Regions from separate parts of the Homo sapiens genome. Here region 2 is linked to region 1. Evidence: promoter capture Hi-C in human tissues and cell types (Jung and others, 2019). All regions are on one chromosome and are shown on one strand. Each heading gives the region's core, a stretch centred on a gene start or on the middle of the fragment in contact. The rest is flanking DNA. Distances are from core to core; before and after follow the strand shown. Region 1 holds the start of TRPM2 (transient receptor potential cation channel subfamily M member 2). Region 2 holds the start of LRRC3 (leucine rich repeat containing 3).

Region 1 (7,355 bases), core at 4,833-7,332:
AAATGGACCAATCAGTGCTCTGTAAAATGGACCAATCAGCGCTCTGTAAAATGGACCAATCAGCAGGACATGGGCGGGGACAAATAAGGGAATTAAAAAAAAACAAACAAAAAAACTCTAAAACCAGATGAAACCTGAACCAGATGGCACAGGGGAAAGACCACTGAGCAGTGAGAAAGGAAACAGGTTTCCCCGCCACGTATTGACTGTGTGATCTCGGATGTTTCTACACTCAGTTTCTCAATCATTAAAATGGAAAAAATAATTCCTCCCGGATGTGCACCCTACAAATCCAAATCCGTACAAACCCCTAAGGTCACGCTCAAGGCACTTCAGACTTGCAGGGATCTTGCGAGCACCTGATGTTGAGAGGTGAAGCCAGCTAGACTTCTGGGTTGGGTGCGGACTTGGAGAACTTTTCTGTCTTACAAGAGGATTGTAAAATGCGCCAATCAGCACACCATAAAATGGACCAATTGGTGCTCTGTAAAATGGACCAATCCGCACACTGTAAAATGGACCAAGCCATGCTCTGTAAAATGGACCAATCAGCACACTGTAAAATGGACCAAGCAGTGCTCTGTAAAATGGACCAATCAGCACACTGTAAAATGGACCAAGCAGTGCTCTGTAAAATGGACCAATCAGCGCTCTGTAAAATGGACCAATCAGCAGGACACGGGCGGGGACAAATAAGGGAATAAAAGCTGGCCACCCCTCCAGCCAGCAGCGGCAAACTGCTCGGGTCCCCTTTCACGCTGAGGAGTCTTTGTTCTTTCGCTCTTCACAATATATCTTGCTGCTGCTCACTCTTTGGGTCCCTGCCATCTTCAAGAGCTGTGACACTCACCGCGAAGGTCCCCGGCTTCACTCTTGAAGTCAGCGAGACCAAGACCCCCGGGAAGGAACCAACTCCGGACACAATGTGACCTCCACTGTTTATGGATGAGAGACCTGGGTCGGAGGTGGGGAAAGGAGTTCCCTAGACAAGGACCTGAGCTCTCCCGTCTTGCTCCAATGCTGCCCCAAATGTCCTTGTATGTTCCTAACAGCCTATCACAAGCTACCTCCTGTCCCTCTTGTCCTTGAACGATCACCTCTGATGAGATTGGAACTTGAACCTGCATGGCGTTTGCAAGCCTGATGTGATGCTGGAAACTGCATTGCGGACACTGATCCAGAAATTACATCGCCGGAGAGCTCGCTCGGAACTCGGCCCAGATAGGCGTAAACGGGACACCACCCCCGGCACCCCACGGGAAATGAGAGCTCTTGGAGGTGTATTCTCTCCAACCTGGGCTCCTTCCTGCCACCCAAGGGGGGCTCCCTGCCTCCCCACCCCCACCGCATGTGCGCGTGAATTCTGAGGCATCCCCTCCAGTCTCTGCGCTCACAGATGAGGATTGGTGGCCCAGGGAAGAGAAGTCATCTGCCCAAGGTCATGAGATCCATGGTGGCAAAATGTGAGCACAAAGGTCTGGACCAGGGTGGCCACAGCAGACACGGAAATGAGACGAGTCTGTGCAGAGCTGAGGAGGGTTACCAGGACGTGGGGCTAAGCAGTGGGATTACCCGGGCGGGTGTCGAGGGGCTCCAGGTCTGGACGAGTGGGGTAGGAAGACCCTACCATGCTTAATGGAAACATGTAAGTGGTATAAATAAATCTGCTTGAAAAGCTGTGTTTGTGGCAGACGATGCTCACCACTCGTTCCGCCCTGGTCTTTCCACAAGAAGGAGGGACATTCCATCCACTCCTCAGGAAGGAACAGCCAGGAACACACCTGGTCCCTCTTCCCATCCTGCTGCAGTGACCACCGTGGTTGGTGAGATGAGAGCGGCTTCTGTGCGGGACAGACTCGGTGCAGCAGATCTCAGGTTGCCTTCTCAGAGGGGCCTGCTTTCAAGGTGGTGTCTGGGAACGGGGCTTTTGGAGCGTCTCTCCGTCCCCTGACTGCTAGGAGTGCTTTGCCGGGCCTGGACTGTTCCTGCAATGGGTTTGTGCTGAACAGCTGCTTTCCTGCTGGGAGTCTGGGATTTGGGTGGTTGCCATGCAGAGGGGCCCACGTGGCCAGCGCAGGATGCACGCCCTGGGCTCTGAGCCTCGAATGGGCTTTGCAGGTGGCCACGTGCTTCTCGGCTAGAGGAAGGAGCATGCATGGCGCCTGCACAGGAGAGCCGCAGCAGCCTGCCCTCAGATTCTCCAGACTCGGCCTGTGTCTTTCTCCCTTGCCAAGCCCATCACGTAGGCCTTCACCATGATAAACCTTAGCTGTGTGCACAGCTGTGAGTCCTAGCAAACCCCTGAGCATGGGGGATGGCTTTGGGGACCTCCAGAAGCAAGTCTGTCCTGCTTACATCTGATCCAGGTCAGCACCCCTTCCTCTCTGGGCCCTGCTGCCCCAAGGGTTTCCACTTCCATGTGAGAAGCACGCAGAGCCGACTGGCAGAGGCCCCAGACCCACGGGGCCTCACCTAGGCTTCTCAGGACACAGCAGGTCAGGGTGTCAGCGGCGTTCAAACCAGAGTGAGTCCCATCTTGAATAGGCGCTGGGTGAAATGAGGCTGAAACCTGCTGGGCTGCCTTCCCAGACGGTTAAGGCATTCTAAGTCACAGGATGAGACAAGAGGTCAGCAGAAGACACAGGTCACAAAGACCCTGCTGATAAAACAGGGTGCAAGACACTGGGTAAAACCCACCAAAACCAAGATGGCGACGAAAGTGGGCTCTGGTTATCCTCGCTGCCCATTACACGCTAATTATAACATATTAACATGTAAGAGACACTCCCACCAGCACCATGACAGTTGGCAGATGCCATGGCAACATCAGAAATACCCTGTATGGTCTGAAAGAAAGAGGAAATCAGTTCTGGGAAATCCCCGCTCCTTTCCCATAAAACTCATGAATAATCCACCCTTGTTAAGCACATGATCCAAAACTACCATAAAAATAGCCAACCAGCCAAGCACGGTGGCTTATGCCTGAAATCCCAGCACTTTGGGAGGCCAAGGCTGGTGGATCACCTGAGGTCAGGAGTTCCAGACCAGCCTGGCCAACATGGTGAATCGCATGAACCTGGGAGACGAAGGTTGCAGCGAGCCAAGATCATGCCATTGCACTCCAGCCTGGGCGACAGAGCGAGACCCCGTCTCAAAAAAAAAAAAAAAAAATAGCCAAGCAGCAGCCCTCAGGGCTGCTCTGCCTATGGAGAAGCCATTCTTTTATTCCTTTACATTGTTAATAACTTGCTTTCACTTTACTCTGTGGACTCGCTCCAAATACTTTCTCGTGTGAGATCCAAGAACCCGCCCTTGGGGTCTGGATCGGGACCCCTTTCCAGTAACAAGGGTGAGCTCCGAGGCTGGAGTACCACTGCTCTACAGACCCCGCTCCTTCCACATGGGGCTCTTCATCACTGTCTCTACATCCAGCCCTCCATGGCCGCGAGTTTTGCATCTGCAGATTCAGCCAAACGCAGACTAAAAATATTCAGGAAAAAAAAAACAATTAAAAATAACATAGCCAGATGCAGTGGCTCACGCCTGTAATCCCAGCACTTTGGGAGGCCGAGGCGGGTGGATCACCTGCCTCGGCCTCCCAAAGTGCTGGGATTACAGGCGTGAGCCACCGCGCCCGGCCCAAAAATACAAATTTTTTAAATGCAGTATAACTATTTTTATAACATCTACATTGTATCAGGTATTATAAGTAATCTAGAGATGATTTAAAGTATGCTGAAGGATGTACATAGTTTATATGCAAATACCACACCATCTCATATCAGTGACTTGATATGAGATTTTGGGACTGATACGAGATATGGGATTTTGGTGTCCGTGGGTGTCCGGGAACAATTCCCCAGGGATGCGGAGGGACAGCTGTTGTATTGGTGACCGTGAAACTCTGATGATGTACCGAGTACACTAGAGGTACCCTGGGGCAACACAGTCTTCTTCTATTTCCCAAGCACAGGATGCTTCTCCCTCCCCATATTCAGTAAATATGAGCTGAAGGCCACTCTCTGGGAATTAACACAACACTCTGCTTTCGTCCCAGCCCCCCAGAAGCTCAGCAGCTAGCAAGAAAGATGAACACAAAGCCACACAGTTACAGCACGACAGCTGGGATCAAAGAGAAACACACGGTGCGGTAGGAGGGAAGCTCACTTCCTGGTAGAGGTTGTATAGTCACGGAAGGCTGCACGGCAGAGGCAGCATCTGCAATAGGCCTTGAGGGATAAGTAGGAGCTCACCAGGCAATGGAGTAAAAGGAGGAAGCGTGTGGCCCATTTGTGGAAGAGCATGAAATGGGTGTTGCTCGGGGAGGGCACACAAACATGAATCAACACTCTGTCCGTGCCTAAAGGGGCGCCAACTGCGGGGAGCACCATCGGCTCCGGAGGGCCATATCCAGCCACTCAGAGACAGTGGCCATGTTGCCTGGGCGGGGGTCTTGGCCACACCTGAGTCGTGGGCTCTGTGGGGAGGAGGGGCAAAGGGGGCTCTGTGGGGCCTGGGGGCAAGTCGGGCCTCTGGCTTTGGCAAGCTGTGCAGGGGGGCAGTCTTCTGGCCATGGACTCTCCCTAAGGCCCTTCCAGTTCCTGGACCCTGGGACTCTCTCTCTTGGGGTGGGGGCAGGTGTGGAAATGAGAGGATTAGAGGATGCATCTGTGTTCACACCACTGGGCCTCGCCGCGCGACAGTGCCCTTATGACCCTGAACAAGTCACCTAAACTCTGCACTTTGGTCCCTGCACCTGCGAGGCAGGATGAGGGTCAACTGTCCCCGACAGGAGGCTTGCAAGGGTTAGGTGGAAATGCTCTGTGGACTCTAAGCCTCGTATGGAGACAGAGGTATCTCCAGTGACCCTTCACTGAGGCCCTGAGGGGTCTTGGCCTGATCAGCTACTCCATGTGGGATCGGAAGGAAGAAGTCAGAGGTCTTACACACAAATCACGTCACTTACCCAGCATCAGACAGTTTGGAACTTTCCACAAAATACACGCATTCTTTCTTCTTGATGTTTTCAGGAATCCACGAACTGAGGCTTTCTTGCTGAAGGTAAAGACAGCACACTGAGATCTTCCAACATTCGAAAGAGCACACCCAGCCCCCTGGAGACACATCTGAGCTCCTTGAGGAGCTTTCACACTATTTGCTTGAAGGAAGGAAGCCTGCGCGACCCTGAGCCAAAGATTAGAAGCACCTTGCCAAGACTCTCCGGTGGGGATTCAGGAGGGAGGAATGAATCTAAGAAATCATTTCCTCTTGGGACCATTTTGAATGTGCGCGCACTTTACAGTTTCTACAGCACCACCACCTTCCTTGGGAACAACATGGTGTGGTGGAAAACGTGGAGGCTGGGGATCTGGGGACCTGGATCTTGCACCATCGGAAAAAGGGCAGCCACCCTCCTGCCTGCCTGGCAAGGGGACTGCAAGATGCCATGTGCTTTCAACATACTTGTGTCTTTGTATCCAGGGCTTTGGGGAAAGCTAGCCCAGGCCCAGGCCCTCCCAATCGGATAAAGGATGTGAAATCATTATGCAACAAGGTAAGCACGGGTAACAGATTTCCAGGACTCTAGCGCAACATTTTTGAGTTAACCCGGTGATTTCCCAATCAGACCAACCATGGGAAATGGTCATGCAACCCACAGAAGACGAGACACGCATCACCCTCCCCAGTTCTGTTCTCCCAAAGGTATGGTTGGGCAGGAGCCCCCAAGGTCAGCAGACCCTTTCCCACCCCCGTCGTCACAGCCTCAAGCTATGACCTGCCCAACGGTGACCTCCGTGGCCACGTGCCAACTGCAGGCTGACCAGCAGAAAGCCTACCTTGTCATTGTTGCCGAAGGGGCACTGTAGCCTCCAGCTCTTGAAGAGGCTGCTGTTGCTGCGCCGGAGATTGGAGACCATCCCCAGGTCAGTGACCCTTCTGGGCAGCCCCTCAAAGCCCTCCTCCTGCTCCGAGCCAGCTTTCCTCAGGGCTGAGGGCTCCATTCTGAGACCCCCACGCCAGCTGCAACCAGGCCTGCTGCCCTCAGGACAGTCCTCTCTCCAGCTCGCTACACTGGGGTTCTAGAGACACATGGGGTGGTTGCTGAAATAGATCAGAGACAGGAAGATGAGGCTGATGTTCTGAGAGGACCTGGCCACATGCTTCCTCATGTGAAGCCCTCATCCGGTTCTCTTCATCAGCCTGCACATGTTCCCAGCTGCCTGAGCTGTGTCCCTTGGCTGGGGCCCCCGGACACTCTGGGGGAGTACATGCACATGCGGGGGTCCCAGCGGCCGTTCATAATGGTAACAACCTCAGGTGACTGCAGGGCCAGAGAAAGAGCTCCCTCCCCCACGGGTGCAGCTGCACTGAGCACCGCACAGGGAAGTCTCCACCGCCAGCACCAGCTGCCAGCGACATGGTTTCGCAACTGTACAATTCTGCACAGCTCCTGCTTCCAGACACCAGTGACTACTTTCATATTCCAAAATTTTTTTAAATAGCCCTCACTGTCCACAAAGGAAGTTTCTTTTTCTTCTTGTTTTTTGAGACGGAGTCCCACTTTGTCGCTCAGGCTGGAGTTCAGTGACGCAGTCTCGGCTCACTGCAACCTCGGTCTCCCTGGTTCAAGTGATTCTCCTGCCTTAGCCTCCCCAGTAGCTGGGATTATGGGCGCCAATCACCACACCCTGCTAATTTTTTTTGTATGTAGTAGCAACAGGGTTTCACCATGTTGGTCAGGTTGGTCTCAAACTCCTGACCTCAGGCGATCCACCAGCCTCCGCTTCCCAAAGTGCTGGTTTTACAGGCGTGAGCCACTGTGCCCAGCCTAGAAAGGAAGTTTTGGGGAGTACCACATCTCTCCACTCCAGGAAAAAGACAATAATTCAAATGAATCTTTTTCTCTCATATCCTTTCCCCCTGGCTCTGATGTGGCCTTCATCACCGAGGCCACAAGAAGCCACCGGATGACTGCCCTCCCTTTACAAATGAGAAACATAAGCATGTTCAAGCCCTGCGGGGCCTCCCTGAGTCCCTGACACCCACAGTGTTCTCATGAGGTCATCCATGGTCATCCCCTGCCACTGCCCCAAAGGTGTCAAGGGGAGGGTTGCTGGGATGCAAAAGATCTGACTGGAATCCCCCCTCATCCCTGCCCTGAAACCAGATCTCTGGCCACGTCCTCTCCACTACACACGACGGTCACTGTCAGACAAGCCTTTGCTCTGCCGTCCCCTCATCACATTAGGTGACTGAGCCCCTCTTCGGGGCCACGCAGCTCGAAGCTCGGTGCCGGGCTCTTGGGGCTGAGCTACGGGCTGCTGTCCTGGGGCGGGCACTCTCAGGCAACCCCA
Region 2 (7,301 bases), core at 2,260-4,759, 100 kb before region 1:
CTGTGGGCAGAGCAAAGCCTACCAAGCACCTCACAACACAGACACCCCCGTGACTCACACTGCACACACGGGGTACCTCAGAACCAGTGCACACACCCTGGACAGGCTCTCACCTTCCAAGTCACCTGATACTTTCCAAAGAGAAACCACCCTCAACTTCCATTCATTTTTAAGCATCTGTTTGGCGAAGCATCTCTACATACCTACACTTCAGTCCACACACAATGTACACTGATCACTCATTTACACCCCCCCCAAAAATACTCAAAGTACTTTAAAATATAAACACTCATAAAAAGGACAATAAAAAATAAAATTAGGAATTACTATCATATAGGTGGAGGTAACATCTAACCTGAATGTGAAGTAAGGTTAGTAAATTGAGCACTAAATTATCTCTGAGATTCCTGGCAGCAAAGGTGAAAAGAGAGAGTTCCTGTTGCTGGAGAAAACGAAGCATCCCATTGATTGGCCTTGAAACATCAATCCCCAGTACTCCGGGCCTTGGAAAAAGAGCTGTTTTATATCTTAGTGAGTAGAAAAAGCAAGGCACAGGGCCGGGCGCGGTGGCTGACGCCTGTAATCCCAGCACTTTGGGAGGCTGAGGCGGGCGGATCACTTGAGGCCAACAGTTCGAGACCAGCCTGGCCAACATGGTGAAACCCGGTCTCTACTAAAAATACAAAAATTAGCCAGGCGTGGTGGCTCATGCCTGTAATTCCAGCTACTAGGGAGGCTGAGGCAGCAGAAGTGATTGAGCCTGGGAGGCAAAGGTTGCAGTGAGCTGAGATCGCCCTGGGGCAGGGCCTCCCGCATCAGGCACACCCAGAGGGGCAGGAAGCAGGCGGGCCCCCAGGTATGTGGCTGCTGTCTTCCCCTGGGCAAGCTACCCTGGACTTTTCCCAGGTCTCTCTCCATATTGTTCACCCCATTACTGAACTGAAATTTTGGCACTACGGTTACTCAAAACAAACATTTGAGAATAAAAAAGGGTAGGACAGTTTGTTTGAGCTACACATCCCACTTAGCTCTCTAGAAAAACCTGGTCTCTGTTACTTTGCTCTGGAAACAGGGCTTACGTTCCAATGTACTTCGAACACTGGAACAAGGCTCATGTTTACCTACAATGCACTTTGTAAGTAAACAAGGGCAAGTCAGCTCCTCAGCACAGGACTTATCAGCGCCTTCAGCGGGTGAACCTGCACCCAAGCTCCCTCTGGTGAACCCTCTCGCTTGCAGAGCACCCCCTTAGTCCTCTGAGTGCATATCCACAGCCTGCAGGGCCCCGTGTGGGAGAGGCTGGCATGGTGGAAGGAGGCGGAATGTCACGATGGACAGCCCGGGTTGAAGTTCCACTGGGATAATTTCCTGATGGTATCGTCACGGGCAGTCATTCCGTTCCTCTAAGCTTCAGGTTCCTCATCCGTCACACGGATGTGTGGCAAAACCACCCAGCCTGGAGGTGCTGCTGTGCCTGAGTGCAACAGTGGGGAGCACACATGGCTGTGACACCTGCCTCAGGGAAGAGCAAAAGCAGCATCAGTCACCACCTACTACAAAAGTGACAGCAGCCACCGGCGGGGGTCTGCCGGAACAGGCGCTAGGGCCCCGGGCCGATGGGGTCCTTGGAGGCGGGGGCGCTGGGCAGAGACTTCAGGTACTCCAGGTGCCTCCGGGCATCCTCCTGGTTGTGGCGCACATAGTACACGACGTAGGCGATCACCATGGCGAACCAGCCGAACATGGTGACCAGCATGGCCACGTCTGTGGTCCTGTGGGGGACGCTGCAGAGGCTGGCACCCGCATCCAGAGCCTGAACCAGAGGCTTCCCCACAAACTCCTCCTGCACTGAGGTGTGGCAGGCGATCTCGTCCACAGAGTCGGGGTCCAGCTTCAGCTCCCACAGGGCCTCCTGCAGGGCGCACTCGCAGTGCAGGGGGTTGTGGGACAGGCGTATCTTGGCGCTGAGTTTGCCCAGGGCGTCCTTGGGGATCCTCTGGATGCGGTTGTAAGACAGGTCCAGCAGCCGCAGGCCCCCGGCCAGGCCCGCGAAGGTGGCGGAGCCGATGGCCTCGATGGCGTTGTGAGACAGATCCAGCTCCCTGAGCCGGTGCAGGTGCTGGAAGGCCCCGTCCGGGAGGTGGGAGATCTTGTTGGCATCGAGCTTCAGGAGCACGGTGTTGGCCGGGATGTCCTCGGGGACCTCCTGAAGGCCCCGCAAGCTGCAGAAGACAGCCACAGCCCCTGCGTGGTCAGGGCACCGGCAGGGCTGTGGGCAGGCGGCGCCCAGGTGCAGGCAGAAGAGGAGGAAGAGACAAGACTCCCGGGTGGAGACCAGCAGGAGCGAGGGGCGAGGTGGGCGCACGGTGCCCATCCTGACCTGACCTGGGGACGGGGACACGCGAGCCTCTGCTAGGGCCTGGGGATGGAGCTGGTTTCCGCAGGCAAGGCCTTATCCAACCAGACATGAAACCGCCATCCTGCCCCGCTGGGAGAAGCAGTGCAGTCCACTCTGGCAGCTCTGAAAGGGAAGACGCAGGAGGGAGCGGAGAGGGAGGGAGGGTGGTCAGCACTGCCGGCTGCGGTCACCTGGGAAACGCGTCCACTGGTGGGGAGGGTGTTGAGGGCCCACTGAAGGGTCTGGGGTGGGGAGCACGCCTCCTTAAACAGCTCTGCCTGTAACTTACTTCTGGAGACTCCCAATGCGCCCGGGAGGAGCGTCCCACAAGTGCAGGGAGCTGGCACTGCCAGGGGGCTCCGCATGGCCCAGTGGGTGGTCACTGCGGCCACCCCTGGCCACCTACAGCACCGCTGGGGACCAAAGGCCGGGCGGCGGAGTGGCGGCGGCTTGGACCACCCAGCCCCTCCCTCCTCAGGGTGGACGCCAGGAGGACGGTGACGGCTGCAGCTTCTCCCGAACCTGGAGCGCGGGTCAAGCTGGGCACGTGGCCGGGCACCAGCGGGCGCTCGCGCGCCAGGGGCTACTCCAGCAGCCAACGCCTGGCTGACTCCGACAACCCCTAAAAACTGTCATAACCCAGCAAGCCCTTCCCTGCCAGCCCTAAAGGAGCCGCGGCTCGCACCGGGCACAGAACCGCGCCTTTTCTTTCAACTGCCTGAAGAAGGAAACCGAGAAAACAGAGAAGCCAAGCCCTGTGCGCGCGGCCCGCGCTGGGCGTGGACGGCGGGGCCGCGCGCGGAGCCGGCCGGGAGAGGCTCGGACCCCCAGGACCTCCAGCCTTTAGACCCTCCGGCCCTAGGACCCCCGGAACCTGGGACCCCCGAGACCCCAGCACTCGCGGCGGGGGGATGGTCATGGGGTGGGTGGGAATCCACGCTCCCAGGGCTGGGCGGGGGCTTTACCTGCGCGGCGGCGGCCGGAGGCTGCTCTGCGCGCCGCTCCCGGGCCTCTCGGAGCCCGCCAGACCCAGCTCCACGCCTGGCGCGGCGGCCACCCCGCTGCCCCTGCGACCGCGCCCGCGACCACTAGCTGGGGAGGCCGCGACTCCGGCCTGCGCGGGCGAGGGGCGGGGTGGGGCGGGGCCTGGAGGGGGCGGGGCGAAAGGCGGAGACAGGCTGTGTCGATTCCCCGCGGGGGCGGGGAAGGGGCGGGGCATGTAAGGAGACCGGAACGGGATTTGTGGTTAGGCGGGGGCGGGGCTTGAGGGCGGGTTCTGCGGCAGGGCGGGGCCTGGAAGAGATGGGGGAGGGGCATGGGAGGGGCATGGGAGGGGCCGGTGGTGCGGCTTTAGATGGAGCTGGTACTAAGACCCAGGTCGCAGGGGCTGTGGGCGGGTTGTGGGAGTAATTGTGGCATGCTGGGGGCGTGGTTGTGGGGCTGAGGACGAGGTGGTGGGGGCTGAGGGCGTGGTTATGGGTGGGGGCGGGGTCTGCGCGCCGGGAGGGGCTGTGGGTCCAGCCCCTGCCCCTCACTCTGGGCAAATCCCCTCTTCCCTCTGGCATCAGGACTTCTGGGGCTTGAAGACCCTGGGTCTGCGGGAAGCCCCTGCTGAGCGTCCCTCGCCTACCCCGTGGCCAGTGGGTGAGTAGGGCTAGATCTCCGCCCATCTAGGTCCCCTTCTGCTCCAGCTCCAGCGTCTGACATCCCAAGGAAGGAACGCAGGGTGGGGGCATTTGAGCCGGACCTGAGCCATCCTCATGGTTTTCAAAAAGTAGCCTTATTGTGGTGTAATTGACAGACGGTAAGCCACATATTTCAATTTGGTACGTTTTAACACTCGGATACTCCTGTGAAACCATCACCACAATCAGCATAGTGAACACCCCGGGTTCCCTCTTGGTCATCTCTCCCTGCCCTCCCTCATCCCCAGGCAAGCACTGATCTGCATTCTGTCACTACTGATTACTTTGCATTTCCTATGATTTGCACAAATGGAATCATATAATATGTACTTTTTGTGTAGCTTCTTTCACTCAGCACAATTATTTTTGAGATTTGCCTGCGTCATTTGGTTTGTCAATGCGTATTTCTTTTACAGCTGCATGGTACTCCAGTGTATGAATGTACCACAGTTTGTGTCCATTCACCTGCTGGTGGGCATTTGGGTTGTTTCTGGTGTTGGCTCTTACAGATAAAGCTGATCCGAACATTGTGCACAAGTCTTTGGATGAATGCTTTTCTTTCTCTTGAATAGATGTCTAGGAGTGGAGTGGCTGGATGCCACGGTAGCCATATGTGAAACTTTTTAAGAAACTGCCAAAGCGATTGTATGGTTTTACATTCCACATCCTCCCCAGCACTTGGTATGGTTTGTCTTTTTAATTTCAAATACTCTAATAGGTGTGTGGTGATAGATGGAACTGTGGTTTTAATTTGCGTTTCCCTGTTGGCCAATGATGTTGAGCATCATTTCATCTGTTTATTCTCCATCTCCTGTAGTAAGCGTTGAGTTCAAATCTTTTACTCACTTTTAATTGGGTTGTTTATTTTCTTATTATTGAGTTTGGGAGTTTGTTGCATATTCTGGATACAAGTCCTTTATCAGATATGTGATCTGTAAATGCTTTCTCCAAGCCTTTGGATTGTGTGTTCATTCTCTTAACAGTTTTTCAAAGAGCAGAATTTTTTAATTTTGAGGAAATCCAATTTATGTTTTTCTTTTATGGATCCTGCTTTTGGTGTCATATATAAGAAATCTTTGCCTCACCCAAAGTCACAAGGGTTTTAGAGTTTTAAAGGTTTGCATTTGGGTCTATTACCTATTTTAAGTTTATTTGGGTTTATAGTATGAGATATGATTCAATGTTTATTTTTTGTGTATGTGGATAATCAGTTTTTTCCAGACTGTTGAAAAGACTATCCTTTCTCTTGTTTGCTGAGAGTCTTTTTAATCAGGAATGAAAGTTGGATTTTGTTTTTTCTGCATCTATTGAGAATCTTTTTGCGTGATGATCTATTAATATGATAGAGTATAATGATTGATTTTAAAGTGTTAAATCAATCTTGTGTTCTTGGGATAAAGCCCACGTGGTCATGATGTATTATCATTTTTATATGTGGTTGAATTATTTAATGGATATACAACTGCTGAGTTTATTTTATTCTTGACTGAATGTATGTAGTTTGTATCGCTCAAGAAATTGCCCATCGCATATAAGTTGTTGAATTTATTAGCATAAAGTTGTTCATAATATTCCTTTATCCTTTCAACATCTGTGAAGTATGAGGTGATGTCATCTTTCTCATTTCTGATACTGGCAATTGTGGCTTTTTTTTTAACTGAACAATCAGATAGCAGTTTATCAATTGTATTGATCTTCTCAAAGAAATAGCTTTTTGGTTTCGTTGATGCACTTTTTTTTCATTGACTTCCACTCTTTATTCTTTCTTTTGCTTGTTTTTTTGTTTGTTTGTTTTTGTTTTTGTTTTTGTTTTTGAGACAGAGTCTTGCCTTGTTGCCCAAGCTGGAGTTCAGTGGGGGCAATCTCGGCTCACTGCAAACTCCATCTTCCGGGTTCAAGTGATTCTCCTGCCTCAGCCTCCTGAGTAGCTGGGATTACAGGCATGTGCCACCATGCCCAGCTAATTTTTGTATATTTTTAGTAGAGATGGGGTTTCACCATGTTGACCAGGCTTGTCTCGAACTCCTGACCTCAGGTTATCCACCCACCTCGGCCTCCCAAAGTGCTGGGATTACAGGCATGAACCACTGCACCCAGCCTCTTTTGCTTACATTGGGTTTGACTTTCTCTTCTTTTTTAGGTCTCTTAAGGTGGAAGCTGGGGTCACTGATCTGTACAAGCATTCAGTACTATAAATTTCCCTCTAAGTCCACCTTTAACTGCATCCCAGAAATTTTGATATGTTGTATTTTTGTTTTCATTAAGTTGAAAATAATTTATAATTTTCCCTTTGATTTCCTTTTTGACCCATGAGTTTAGAGCTATGCTATTTCACTTCCACATATCTGTGCATTTTCCAGAGCTCTTTCTGCTGTTGATCATTACTTTAAAGCCATTGTTGTCAGAGGACATATTCTATGTTTCGGATCCTTTTAAATTTATTGAGACTCTTTCATGGCCCCGATTATGGTTGGCGGTTGTTGCATGCGCACTTGAATTTGTGTACTGTTGCTCCACGAGGTGTCCTATAAACGGCAATGACTGTGTTATTTGAGTAGCCCATATTATCATCCACTTTCTGTCTACTTGCTCTGCTAATTATTGAGAGACCAGCCTGGGCAACAAAGTGAGACACCATCTCTACAAAAAATCAAAAACTCACCCATCCATGGCAGCGCATGCCTGCAATCCTAGCTACTTGGGAGGCTGAGGCAGGAGGATTTCTTGAGCCCAGGAAGTCAAGGCTGCAGTGAGCCGTGATTGTGCCATTGCATTTGAGCCTGGGTGGCAGAGCAAGACCCTGTCTCAAACAAACAAATTCTTGATAGCGGTGTTGAAACCTCTGACTGTAATTGCAGATTTGTCTGTAATTTTTCCTTGCAGCTCTATCAGCTTTTGCTTCATGTGTTTTGAGACTCTGTGCTCACATCGTGCATGCTCCTGACTGGTTGACCCCTGTGTCATCATGAAATGACCCTCTTTATCCCTAGACTCTGACTTGAAATTGACTCCTGCTTTCCTTTGATTAGTTTAGCATGGGATATCTTCTTTTACCTTGTTACTTTTTACCTAGTGTGTCTTATACTTAAATTAGCTTCATTGGAGATTTCCATAGGATCAAAGTATCTGCTTTGACATATTTATTAACCTAAAAAAGTAATAACAGCTTTTCAGTGCAGAAACCACCTTATCTATGTGACAAAGCTCGGGCCATCAGT

Evidence for each region. The method cuts DNA at HindIII sites, captures the fragments that hold promoters and counts their contacts. A contact is called where the count stands out against the background at its distance.
Region 2: the fragment with the promoter of LRRC3 here is called in contact with the fragment with the promoter of TRPM2 in region 1 in 1 of the 25 tissues and cell types used here (mesendoderm cells).

Annotation. Positions count from the first base shown.
Region 1 is chr21:44,352,348-44,359,702 of GRCh38, reverse strand. TRPM2 (transient receptor potential cation channel subfamily M member 2) reads right to left here and starts at 6,082. Exons shown (of 32, transcript NM_003307.4): 1 at 5,838-6,082; 2 at 4,967-5,055. The coding sequence starts at 6,002. RefSeq lists enhancers at 5,607-5,656, 5,817-5,866. The HindIII fragment of the contact is 21,861 bases long and covers 1-7,355 here.
Region 2 is chr21:44,451,718-44,459,018 of GRCh38, reverse strand. It overlaps LRRC3 (leucine rich repeat containing 3), which reads right to left and starts at 3,509. Exons shown (of 2, transcript NM_030891.6): 1 at 3,364-3,509; 2 at 1-2,521. The coding sequence starts at 2,374. The coding sequence ends at 1,601. LRRC3-DT (LRRC3 divergent transcript) reads left to right here and starts at 3,735. Exons shown (of 4, transcript NR_047476.1): 1 at 3,735-3,775; 2 at 3,967-4,042; 3 at 7,250-7,301. RefSeq lists silencers at 3,151-3,580, 3,669-3,848 and an enhancer at 4,012-4,512. The HindIII fragment of the contact is 13,764 bases long and covers 1-5,478 here.